4 separate regions of the Homo sapiens genome follow, and regions 2, 3 and 4 are each linked to region 1. Evidence: promoter capture Hi-C in 16 types of primary human blood cells and fetal thymus (Javierre and others, 2016). All regions are on one chromosome and are shown on one strand. The core of a region is centred on a gene start or on the middle of the fragment in contact, and the rest is flanking DNA. Distances in the headings are between cores, read along the strand shown. Region 1 holds the start of LINC02901 (long intergenic non-protein coding RNA 2901). Region 2 holds the start of ACAT2 (acetyl-CoA acetyltransferase 2). Region 3 holds the start of SERAC1 (serine active site containing 1). Region 4 holds the start of TULP4 (TUB like protein 4).

Region 1 (2,685 bases), core at 127-2,626:
TCATGGGGATTTTGTGAGGATTAAATGAAATGCCTGTTAAGCATTTAAAATGCCTGGCACATTGAAAGTTCTTTTTGGAGACAAGTCTTGCTCTGCCGCCCAGGCTGGAGTGCAGTGACATGATCTCTGCTCACTGCAGCCTCTGCCTCCTGGGTTCAAGCAATTCGGTGCCTCAGCCCTGAGTAGCTGGGATTACAGGCATGCGCCAACACGCCCACCCAATTTTTGTATTTTTAGTAGAGATGGGGTTTCACCATGTTGGCCAGGGTGGTCTGGAACTCCTGACCTCAGGTTATCCTCCTGCCTCGACCTCCCAAAGTGCTAGGATTACAGGTGTGAACCACTGCCTTTGGGCCAAAAGTACTTAATTCTTATTGATGTCCACATTCAACAATTACTAGGTTTGTTTTTTCTGCATCCAGCTGCAAATGATCTTCAAAGTTGTGAACTCAGGAAATCTCAGAGGCGTTTATAGGCTTTCCAACCAGAGATGATATTTGTAATTCAAAGAAGTAAATAGAAATCCTTAAGAGAACCCCTTTCAAGCTAAGTTCCCATCTAATATGGAGTGGTGGCTTCGAATGATCCTTTTGGCTTATCTTTTTAAGTGTAAGAATTTTTGATGAATCACACTTCGTACCTATTTGGTCACTTTCACCAAAGTACAAAACCAGTCTGCCACCAGAAGAAATTTAATAACCTTGAGACTCAGAGAAGCAATGCTGCCTGATTGGTGGACAGCCAGACCAGTGAGGGTCAGACGTGGCTCTTCGGCTCCGGACACGGGAATGTGGTGGAAATGAGATCCTCCAGCGATTCTAAGGAGTGTTTTGTTCTTCTGGCTTAAGAGAAGGGCAGAGGACAGAACCAAGGGGAAAGAGAGACAGGCCCAGCCATTGTCTGACGTGAGGCACGATAACACATTAGAGGGCTGGTTTAGCAAAGGGCAAGGTAGAGTTGGCATTAGACGCGCTTGCAAAGGGAGGCGGGCAAGAGCTTCAAGACGCGAATGACACTTGAGCAGCCTGGGCTCACGTCTGGTAAGGTTTACGCCGCCTGTTCCCGCCATCTGGCAACTCCCTCCCAGAAGGGTGAGTTTGGTTCTTGGCAAATCCCCTTCGGACACACAAGCTCTTTTATTAAAATATAACCCCACTAACAGATTGCAGACTAGGCACAGAAGCCCCAAAGCACCCCCAGAGACCGCAGCAGTCCCGCCCCGCCGCCCCCGGATCCGCGCGGCTGCCAGAAGCTCCCCTCCCCCAGATCTTGGCCCCTCCCTGAGGCGCGCGAGCGTGTCGTCGCCCGCTCCCGGCCAATCAGGGCGCGCGACCAAAATAGCGCCATATAAAAGCTGGATGGCGGGCGCGGCCGGTGCAGAGCCTCGCGCTGGGGTGGGGTTGCGCGCGCAGGTGAGGGGGGCGGGGCCGGCGCGACCGGCGGGGCGGGGCGGACACTCCCACCGCGCACCTGCTTCTGCCTGACGTGTACCCGGAAGGTCGTCAGCTCAGGCTCCAAATATGTAACAGTGAGTTTCTAAGTGAGTCACACGGACGCGGTTGGTTTCCAGTGAGGCATAACTCATCGCTTCACTCTTCTCAACGGTTCCCTCTTCGGAAGGAAGCGCAGTCCGCAGCGTCGTCCGAGGGCGTGATCGCCTGCGTCGCACCCGCGTCTCCAGTGGCCACCCCTTGTCCTACAGGAACGCGCATCTGCTTAGCAGGCGCTGAGCCCTTGAGGAGGCCTAAAATGAATGAACGCGGCTGTGCCTCCTGAGCAGGCTCACAGTTGTGGGTGGGGGACAGAAGGGTGTCCATGCCTAAGGTCGACGGCGATAAGACAGACGTTCTTCCCAGGAGGAGATCAGTTCCAGGTGGGAGGCATTTCTAGGAGTCACCTTTCTCCGAGGAAGTGACCTGAGCTGTAGGAGGTGGAATCACAAAGGCTTTGGTGCCCTACACACCTGGGTTTTAGCCTCAGCTTGAGTCACTCACCCAGTCTGTGACGCTGAACACATCAGGAAACCTCAAACTTTCCCCATCTTTAAGATGCAGATAATAGCCGGTCACCATGGCGTGTGCTTGTAATGGCAGCTACTCGGGAGGCTGAGGCAGGAGGATCTCTTGAACCTGGGAGGTGGAGGTTGCAGTAAGCCGAGATCGTGCCACTCACTCCAGCCTGGGCAACAGAGCGAGACTCCATCTCAATAAATAAATAAATAACACTACATGACTGATAGCATATTTTTGAGGAGCATCTCTCCCCCTCCGTGCTTGGGTTTAATCCCCCCTTCCTCTCTCCCTCCCTCCCTTCCTCCCTTCTTTCTTCCTTCGTTACGTTTCTCTTCATTTCTTTTTTTCTCCATCATTCCTTCATTTTTCTTATTTTTTCCTAACTGATATAATTTACACACAATAAATCGCACAGAAATTAAGAGGACAGCTGGGTGAAGTTTTACATATGTATACACATGTCATTAGCCCCTAGGTCAAGATCTAGAACATTTCCATCACCCCAGGTTTCCAACTGCTCCTTCCGGTCAGTAGTACTTCCCCAGAGGTAACCACTATTCATTTGGACTTAAATTACCAAGTATGAGTTGTGTCTACTCTTAAACTTCATGTAATTGCAATCAAGCATTATGCTTTATTCCAAACTTGTCCAACCCGCACAGGCCACGGTTTT
Region 2 (2,685 bases), core at 131-2,630, 890 kb after region 1:
GATTGATGCCGTAGGAATGACTGGTATTACCCAGGGAGCTGGTGCAAAGTAGGAGCCTTGGGGAACATGTTAAGGGGATGTGAGAGTAAGCCCACAAAGACTCAGAAGTGGCCAGGGAGTAAGGGGAAAATGGGATAGAATAGAGCAAAAGCCACGGGAGGCATTCCTTGAATTCCTTGGACTCAGATATGTTAGGGGACAGGAAACACATTGAAGACAACTGAAGAGACTTCAGTGTGCTGCTGAGTTCTTAGCAGAGTAGACAGCTGATTTCACCACTATTCCAGACCCTAAAGATTTCTCCTGAAATTGCACTGTTATGCAATTTTTTTCCTTCTCTATTGCCCCACCTCTGGGGCCTACACTCTTTACCTTCTCTGATTTATCTGACCCATCCGCATATCTCTGCAAAGTCTTAATGTAGGTTTCCAGGATTTAATGATTCTTTCAATCAACTTTAAAGTTCTTCAGGAAGATTCTCCAGGTCCGTCAACAGTTTTCCCCTTCATGACTTTGTGACAAAGCTTTCTTGTTCCACTATCCAGGTGTTCCCAACAAGTTGCTGTAACGGTGGCCCCTCATAAGCTTGCCTGGAAACCCTAGAAAGCTCAGAAAAATTATGAACTTTGCCCAGTAAGAGGCTGGGAAGTCAGAAAGGGTTTTAAACAAAACTGACCCCACTTGTTACATGCTCCTTTCACTGTCCAAACGTCAACCAAAGGAACTTTTGTGACGCTAAGACGCTCCCGGCGTCCTCACCCGTTCACAGCCAGAGTTGATCTTAGAAGGCAGGGGGCTCGCACCGAGACGCTCCTAGCAAGCCCCTCACGCGAGCGAATGACTGGCGCCAGGAGAAACGCATAGGACCTCCCGAAGCCGCCGAGAGCAAAAGGACCCATCAGAGCTGTGCTGAGACCCGCCGCGGGCCGGGCTCGCACTCGAGATTCTCGCCCGTGGGATTCCAGTCCTGAGCTGAACGAGAGATAAGTCTTTGTCACCCCCCAGTCTTTACTGTTTCGAGAAACCCTAAGATTTTTTAAAAAAAAGCCCAAGACGTCAAGTCGGGGAACTCCAACATTGGGGTGTCCAGAAACACTGGGGTTTCAGGCGCTCTGTAAATGCGTCCGAGGTCCGCGGTTCTGCCCGCAAGCCCAGACCCCGGCCTCACTTCCGCCCCGCGCCCCGCGCCCCGGCCTCACTTCCGCCCCGCGCCCCGCGCCCCGCGCCCCGCGCGCCTCCGCCCGCCCCTGCTCCGGCCTTGCGCCTGCGCACAGTGGGATGCGCGGGGAGGTGGTGCGCGGGGAGGTGGAGGGCGAGGGGCGGGGCTACCTCAGGTCCCGCCCGCGGCAGGCCTGTGGGCTGCGAGGAGGAGCTTTGCCTAGCTTGCAGGCAGCGCAGGGCAGACGGCGGCAGGAGAAGCAAGATGAATGCAGGCTCAGATCCTGTGGTCATCGTCTCGGCGGCGCGGACCATCATAGGTGAGTGGCCGGCGGGAGCCGCGCAGAGTCCGAGGCGCCTGCTGCTTCGGCAGGAGCGCCGAGGGCCGGACTTGTGTAGGAGAGGGGCGTATGTGGAGGAAGCCGGTCAGGCCAAGCCGCGAGGAGCCGCGGGATCCCTGGAACCCTGCGGCTCCCGCGTTCCCTGACCTGGTGCTACAGCCCCACCCTCTCCTCTCCCGATGTGCGCACTCCGTCCCTCGTGCTTGGATTGGCTCCCGGGGTAGAGCCATCGCGTGGCCTGCCTCTCCCATTGGTTGGCGTAGGGAGGTGTTCTCCTCCGGGGCCCCTGATTGGCCGGCTCCGGGAGGCGCCATCGGTAATGCCTGCGGCAGGGGCGGAACTGCTAGGTGGTCTGAGCCCGGCTTTGGGCTGGGGTCGGGCTGTCACACAATGGCTAGAAGTCGTGACTTCGTCTCCTTCGTGCCGCATGGTTTTCAACGCCCTTGACCCGCCGGTTCCTTTTGTTTGGGAAGCATGGGGTCGCATCCAGTCCTTCGGATTTGGGGAAATAGAAGGGCTACAGCGGCGTCCCTAGGCCGTTCTGGAGGTCGCCTGTCCAGCCCTCGGCTGCTGCGAGTTGTGGCACCCACCTTGACCTTTGCTCAGACCAGCAGGTGTAGGAACGTGTGGGAGGAGAGGGCACTGCCTCCTCGCGTGGCCTTGCCAAACAGGGTCATGAGGCTCCCCTGCTCGTAGGTGGTTCCCGTATTACCCGCAGGCTTGTGATGTCCACGCTCTCCGCCTTTCTATTGTAGGTTCCTTCAATGGTGCCTTAGCTGCTGTTCCTGTCCAGGACCTGGGCTCCACTGTCATCAAAGAAGTCTTGAAGAGGGCCACTGTGGCTCCGGAAGATGTGTCTGAGGTCATCTTTGGACATGTCTTGGCAGCAGGTAAGTCTCAGTGATTCCAGGAGAAGTCAGGCTTATTAGAAACAGCCCATAAACACACACACACACACACACTCTCACACACTCACACACTCTCTCACTCACTCAAGTTCTTGCCTCCTTGCTTTTGCTCAGAGTTCCCTCTGTTATGATTCCTCCTGTTGGCCCCCTTCTTCCAGCCCTGTCAGTAGCTTCTATCCAGCTTGAGACTCAGCTTCTTGGCCAGGCAGGGTGGCTCCCGCCTGTAATCCCAGCACTTTGGGAGGCGGAGGAGGAAGGATCACTTGAGTCCAGAAGTT
Region 3 (2,685 bases), core at 65-2,564, 700 kb before region 1:
CTGTTCACCATTGTATCCCAAGCGTCTAGAATAATAGCTGACACACATCAAGTGCACAAAAATGGAACTGATGAGATCAAGGAAGAGAATGTATGCAAGATGAAAAAAAGCAAATAAAAGATACTTGGGAAGAAGAAGACTTGGAGGCAATTTTTTTATTTTAAAGAGAGTGCAACAATATGGAAATCACCAGTTGGAAAAGATTTGAGGGATAGAAAGAGGGAACTAAATGGAAGAGCTGGGTTCCTTAGCGATCACATGAACACACACGATGTTAAAAAAAAAAAAAAAAAAAAAAAGGCAGCATGAGGTCGGGCGCGGTGGCTCACACCTGTAATCGCAGCACTCTGGGAGGCCGAGGCGGGGGATCACCTGATGTCAGGAATTCCAGACCAGCCTGGCCAACATGGACAAACCCCGTGTCTACTAAAAATACGAAAATCAGCCGGGCGTGGTAGCGCACGCCTGTAATCCCAGTTACTAGGGAGAATGAGGCAGGATAATTGCTTGAACCCAGGAGACGGAGGTTGCAGTGAGCCCAGATCGCGCCACTGCACTCCAGCCTGGCAGACAGACCGAGACTCCATCTCAAAAAAAAAAAAAAAAAAGGCAGCATGAGCTTAATGCGGGAAGTACAATTTAACCTAAGGAACAGAAAACAAGAATCTCATATCTCAACTAGTAAAAATAATGACAGTGTTCCTTTAGACTTACAGAACAGACTTGGGGAAAGGGAGTAACTTTAGAACCTTCTGGGGTCTTTCACTTTAAAATGACCGTTGCCGAGTTTAGAGCTCTCTCAGCATTCAATCTATTCCATCTCTGGGGTTAGAGAGGGAGCAGGAAGCGGTGGTCTGCAAGGCTCAGAAGTGACTGGTGAGGCCCTTTCCTCCTCCTCCTCATCTCTCCGTGACTACCGAGCCCGGGAAGACGGACCGGCAGGTGCACTCCCCAAGGCCTCGACAGCAGCCAGAGAAAGGCAGCGACAGGGAAAGACGAGTCAGGCTCGCGACCACCAGAGAGAGAGGCCCTCACGCCCAGCCGAGCGTCAGCTGGTCGGTCCGGTCCGCGCGCCAGACGGCGGTGCTCGGCCGTGCCCGGTCCCTGCCCTCCCCATTCTCCGCTCCCCACCGCGCCCAGCTGCGCCGACGCCCCCGTCCGCCCCCACACCACCCCTGCCTTCACGTCCTACCTGCCGGCAGGCGGACTCAGCCCGTGCCCAACTGCTCGTCGGACCCCGTTGTCTGGGGAGCCCTACTCTTTCCGCGGCTCCCGGCCGGGACCCTCCACCCGGCGGCTGGCGGCTCGTGACCCCGCCCCCTCGGCCCGCTCTGGGCCCGCCTCCCGCCGGCTGGCTCCACCCACAATAGCGTCCCTAGCGCGATGGCGTATCGGCGCAGGCGCACTCTGCCGGCAACGCCGAGGCGCTTCTGCATCTGTGGGCCGAGGTGTGTGGCGAGCGTCCGAGCGGCTGGGGAAAGTGGGGTGTGGGAACACTGAGGGGTCCCAAAGAAAGGGGAGAGGAAGAGAAAAGCCCCAGAAGCCTGTCCACCGGGTGCTGGGGGCACAGGGCGGTGTCCCCCACTCTCTCCGGGCCCTTCCTGGCGGGGCCGCACGGCAGTCCCCCCCTCGTTTAATCGTGGGTTTCCTGTGGGGCTAGGGCTCGCCCTGCGCCCAGGTGTAAGTGGAAGTTAATTAAATGGGCGTACGCTGAGTGGTTTGTTTCCAGCCTAGGTCCGCACGGGACGTGATTTATTTAGTGAAGGGGCACAAGATCTGGAGATCTGGCTTGTACTTTTTTCCTTTGGCCAGGAACTACGGCTTAATCTCTTCCTTTGGTCTCCTCATATGTAAAATGAGGTGGCTGAGGCCGGGCGCGGTGGCTCACGCCTGCAATCCCAGCACATTGGGAGGCCGAGGCGGGCAAATCACTTGAGGCCAGGAGTTCGAGACCAGCCTGGCCAACATGGTGAAACCCCGTCTCCACTAAAAATACAATAAATTGGCCTGGCGCGGTGGCTCACACCTGTTGTCCCAGCACTTTGGGAGGCCGAGGTAGGTGGATCATTTGAGATCAGGAGTTCGAGACCAGCCTGGCCAACATGGTGAAACCCTGCCTCTACTAAAAATACAAAATTTGGCCTGGCGTGGTGGCGGGCGCCTGTAGTCCCCGCTGCTTGGGAGGCTGAGGCAGGAGAATCGCTTGAGCCCGGGAGGCAGAGGTTGCAGTGAGCCGACATCACGACACTGCGCTCCAGCCTGGGCGACAGAGTGAGACTCTGTCTCGAAGTGTATATATACATATATATATATTATATATGTATTTTATATATAATATATATTTATTTTATATATAATATATAATATGTATATTATGTATATTATATATAATACGTATATTATATATAATACATATATATAATATGTATATTATATATTATATATAATATTATATTGTATATTATATATTATATATAATATATTGTATATTATATATATTATATATTATATATATTATATTGTATATTATATATAATATATTGTATATTATATAATATATTGTATATTATATATAATATACAGTATATTATATATAATATACTGTATATTATATATAATATATTGTATATTATATATAATATATTGTATATTACATATATTGTATATTACATATAATATATTGTA
Region 4 (2,685 bases), core at 84-2,583, 560 kb before region 1:
TTTGCTGGGACTTGATGCTACAGGCCAGTAGTTCTCAAAGCCTGGTTCCCTGCCCAGCAGCATTAGCATCTCTTGGGAGCTTATTAGAAATGCGAACACCTGGGCCCTTCCCTTCCCTTTCAGTGTCCAGTTCCTGTGGGATGGGGCTGGGCCGCTTCAGCTGCCCCAGGAGACTGAGAGAGTCTGCTGAATTTGAGAAAGTCCACTCTGCTTTCTGGAAGGACTGGCGGGGCGGGAGGGCAGGGAGGATGAGTAAGTTAGGGACAGAGTGTTCTCGTGTTTGTAGAGGATGTGATGCAGCCTGGACTTCAGGCAGTAGGAAGAAGATGGAATGGATTTGCTAGAGACAGATTCTCTAGAACTTTATTGCTGGTAGACCACATAAAAGCTTAGAAAACAGCTGCGCTTTGCTCCGAGACCTGCCAGCCATCAGGGACGAATGAGTTTTAAAGGCCCTTACTGCTTTGTGTCTTGAGGGAATATCTTTTATTAATCGTGAAAAAATCAATCCAGATAACTTGCCTGAGTCATTTCAGTCTCCTTTTTGAGGATGCCTGCTTAAACAGCGACCATGGTCTCTGGAGGGGTAGAGTCTCACATTCGGAGTTCAGTCTCTTAGAAAGTACAGTTCAGTGTGGAAGAATGGCAGTTATGATTTCATTCAGATGTGCCCAGCTGCTGACAAATTGAATACAACGATCAGTGGCAGGCAGAACTCTCATTTGTTGTGTGTTGTCTTGAGTCTGGTGAGGTGTATCCTTTCACTATTGGATTTTACCATTCAGTGCAGTCAGTAGCTCCATTTGATGTAAGTGTAAAGATGGGTCTCTCATTTCAGTTTCAGCAATTATTCTTAAAACCTTTATTTTCCAGTGTTTTAAAGTTTTTAAATTTTATATCTTTTTTTTTTTTTAAACAGATTTGTAAGACTCCAGGGCCTCCCAGCCGTGAATAATCTGATGGTTCCTGAAATGACTGGGGAAGCAGACGCTTCGTATGGCAGTTGAAGAGTGTGTGTCTATGTGCATTTAAAACCTTCTTTCTGTACTTACACATTCACACGGGAAGACAGGCTCATTCTTGTGCACACTTGAGAGTTTTACAACTGATGAAAATTAATTTAAGAATCAGATGGAGCAACTTGACACCAGTGGGCTCAGGAGCCCGGGGAGAAAAATACATCACTAATGGCCAGTTTTCCATATGGTCTGCACGGGTAAAGAAAGTCTGCAAAAAGAAGAAAAAAAAATTTGCGCAGATTAAACCACAAAAATATTCTCCAGTTTAAAGAAGGAACTAAGTGAGAAGGTGACTGAGAAAGAAGTGTGATTTCAAACATTGCAGCGGCTCACACAGTGTTTGTTGCACTTTATTTTTCAGTGGGTTTGGTGATTTGGACGGATTAAAATTCTAGACTGAAAAGTAACTCCTACTGTGGTTATGGCTAGAGGAAAGCAAGTTCAAGTATGATGGGACAAGTTTGAATAATGAACTGATTCCTTTGCCTATCTTAATTAACTGTATTTGAGAAATTTTAATTTATTATTCCCCCCCTTTTTTCCTGCATCTATAGGATAATATTGTAAAATAGCAATTGAAACCAATAATTATTAAATAAATATCAAGGAAAATCCAAGCAAAGCTTTCTTTTTGTTGGACTAGTGGTGTGGTGTTTGGAGACAGTCTCTGAATGTGAACAGGAAAGCACCCATCAGCAAAACACTATCACTCTCTAGGGAGACAGCTGGGGGAATCTGACTCTGGCTTCTGCTTTTGTTTTAAGGGATTAACTTCCCTGTCAAGTCCAAGAAGACTTGCGTATGAGAAGATTACCTGATGGACTTAATTCTAAGATTAGCTTTTTTCATCAAGATGGAAAAAGATCTTTAGGAGCAGAAAAGGGGAGTGCTAACTGGGGGAGCGAGAAGGGAGACGAGCAAAAGAAACAAAATCTTGCCACGTGGCTCTGTTTTGTCAGCAAGAGGATTTAAGACTCACCCAGGGCAAACACTGGGACCACTGTAAGAGCGCTGGAACATTCTGCCTCTTGAGTGAAGGGGCCTTCTTTCTAGCCTCTATGGCACTGAGGGGTGCGCCGGCTGGTGGAGGAGCAGTCCGATGGAGCCCTGCGTTCCCCGGGGACACAGGGCCAAGCTTTGAGGTGGAAAGTTTCTGGTTCTGAAACAACAAGGAGAGAGTCTGTTTTTCTTCCTAAAATTTGGACTCTTGTCTGCACAAACTCTGGTCTGTTTTGCACGGTTTGTGTGCCTTTTTTTCCCTTTATGCAATCTTTTTCAGCTTTAGCAGCAGAAATTTGTCTAGTTCAGGAAACATGCTAGAGGGTGGCTTCAGAAGGAAGATGATCCTGTGTATTCTGTCTCTGCATCCGAACTTTTGAAGAGAAAAATTCGAGCTAGAGGGATTCTTAAAGCCTTAAGTTACTTGAAATCTATGTATTTGCAACCCTTTGTCTCTGGAATCATATTACACTAAACTGGAATCTCAGGCTGAATGAGAATAACCAAGTGGAGTAAAAAGAAGAAAACCGTTTCTTGATCACCACTTAATTAACGATGCTCTTTCTCCAAAGGATCAGCACGTTCTTCCTCTGAGAACTTGAAAATACAAATGGACCCCATGTTTTTTTAAGCATTACCTTTTCTTAGAAGACTGCCATCATCTTTT

What was found. The method cuts DNA at HindIII sites, captures the fragments that hold promoters and counts their contacts. A CHiCAGO score of 5 or more calls a contact.
Region 2: a contact is called between the fragment with the promoter of ACAT2 here and the fragment with the promoter of LINC02901 in region 1, in 3 of 17 cell types (naive CD4 T cells, fetal thymus and erythroblasts). The highest score is 5.5, in naive CD4 T cells.
Region 3: the fragment with the promoter of SERAC1 here is called in contact with the fragment with the promoter of LINC02901 in region 1 in 1 of 17 cell types (fetal thymus); the score reaches 7.5 in fetal thymus.
Region 4: a contact is called between the fragment with the promoter of TULP4 here and the fragment with the promoter of LINC02901 in region 1, in 2 of 17 cell types (activated CD4 T cells and fetal thymus). The highest score is 7.0, in activated CD4 T cells.

The regions. Positions count from the first base shown.
Region 1 is chr6:158,868,438-158,871,122 of GRCh38, forward strand. LINC02901 (long intergenic non-protein coding RNA 2901) reads left to right here and starts at 1,377. Exons shown (of 3, transcript NR_160980.1): 1 at 1,377-1,540. RefSeq lists enhancers at 351-1,023, 1,024-1,696, 1,597-1,766, 1,697-2,370 and a silencer at 1,197-1,516. The HindIII fragment of the contact is 6,622 bases long and covers 1-2,685 here.
Region 2 is chr6:159,760,665-159,763,349 of GRCh38, forward strand. It overlaps ACAT2 (acetyl-CoA acetyltransferase 2), which reads left to right and starts at 1,381. Exons shown (of 9, transcript NM_005891.3): 1 at 1,381-1,478; 2 at 2,255-2,389. The coding sequence starts at 1,424. SOD2-OT1 (SOD2 overlapping transcript 1) reads right to left here and starts at 1,668. Exons shown (of 2, transcript NR_037166.1): 1 at 1,330-1,668; 2 at 1-972. It also overlaps a transcript of SOD2 not described here. RefSeq lists an enhancer at 634-693 and silencers at 1,124-1,183, 1,204-1,353. The HindIII fragment of the contact is 5,525 bases long and covers 584-2,685 here.
Region 3 is chr6:158,166,948-158,169,632 of GRCh38, forward strand. It overlaps SERAC1 (serine active site containing 1), which reads right to left and starts at 1,315. Exons shown (of 17, transcript NM_032861.4): 1 at 1,193-1,315. GTF2H5 (general transcription factor IIH subunit 5) reads left to right here and starts at 1,403. Exons shown (of 3, transcript NM_207118.3): 1 at 1,403-1,448. RefSeq lists silencers at 1,113-1,182, 1,223-1,402. The HindIII fragment of the contact is 13,828 bases long and covers 1-2,685 here.
Region 4 is chr6:158,311,132-158,313,816 of GRCh38, forward strand. It overlaps TULP4 (TUB like protein 4), which reads left to right and starts at 1,334. Exons shown (of 14, transcript NM_020245.5): 1 at 1,334-2,685. The HindIII fragment of the contact is 1,254 bases long and covers 387-1,640 here.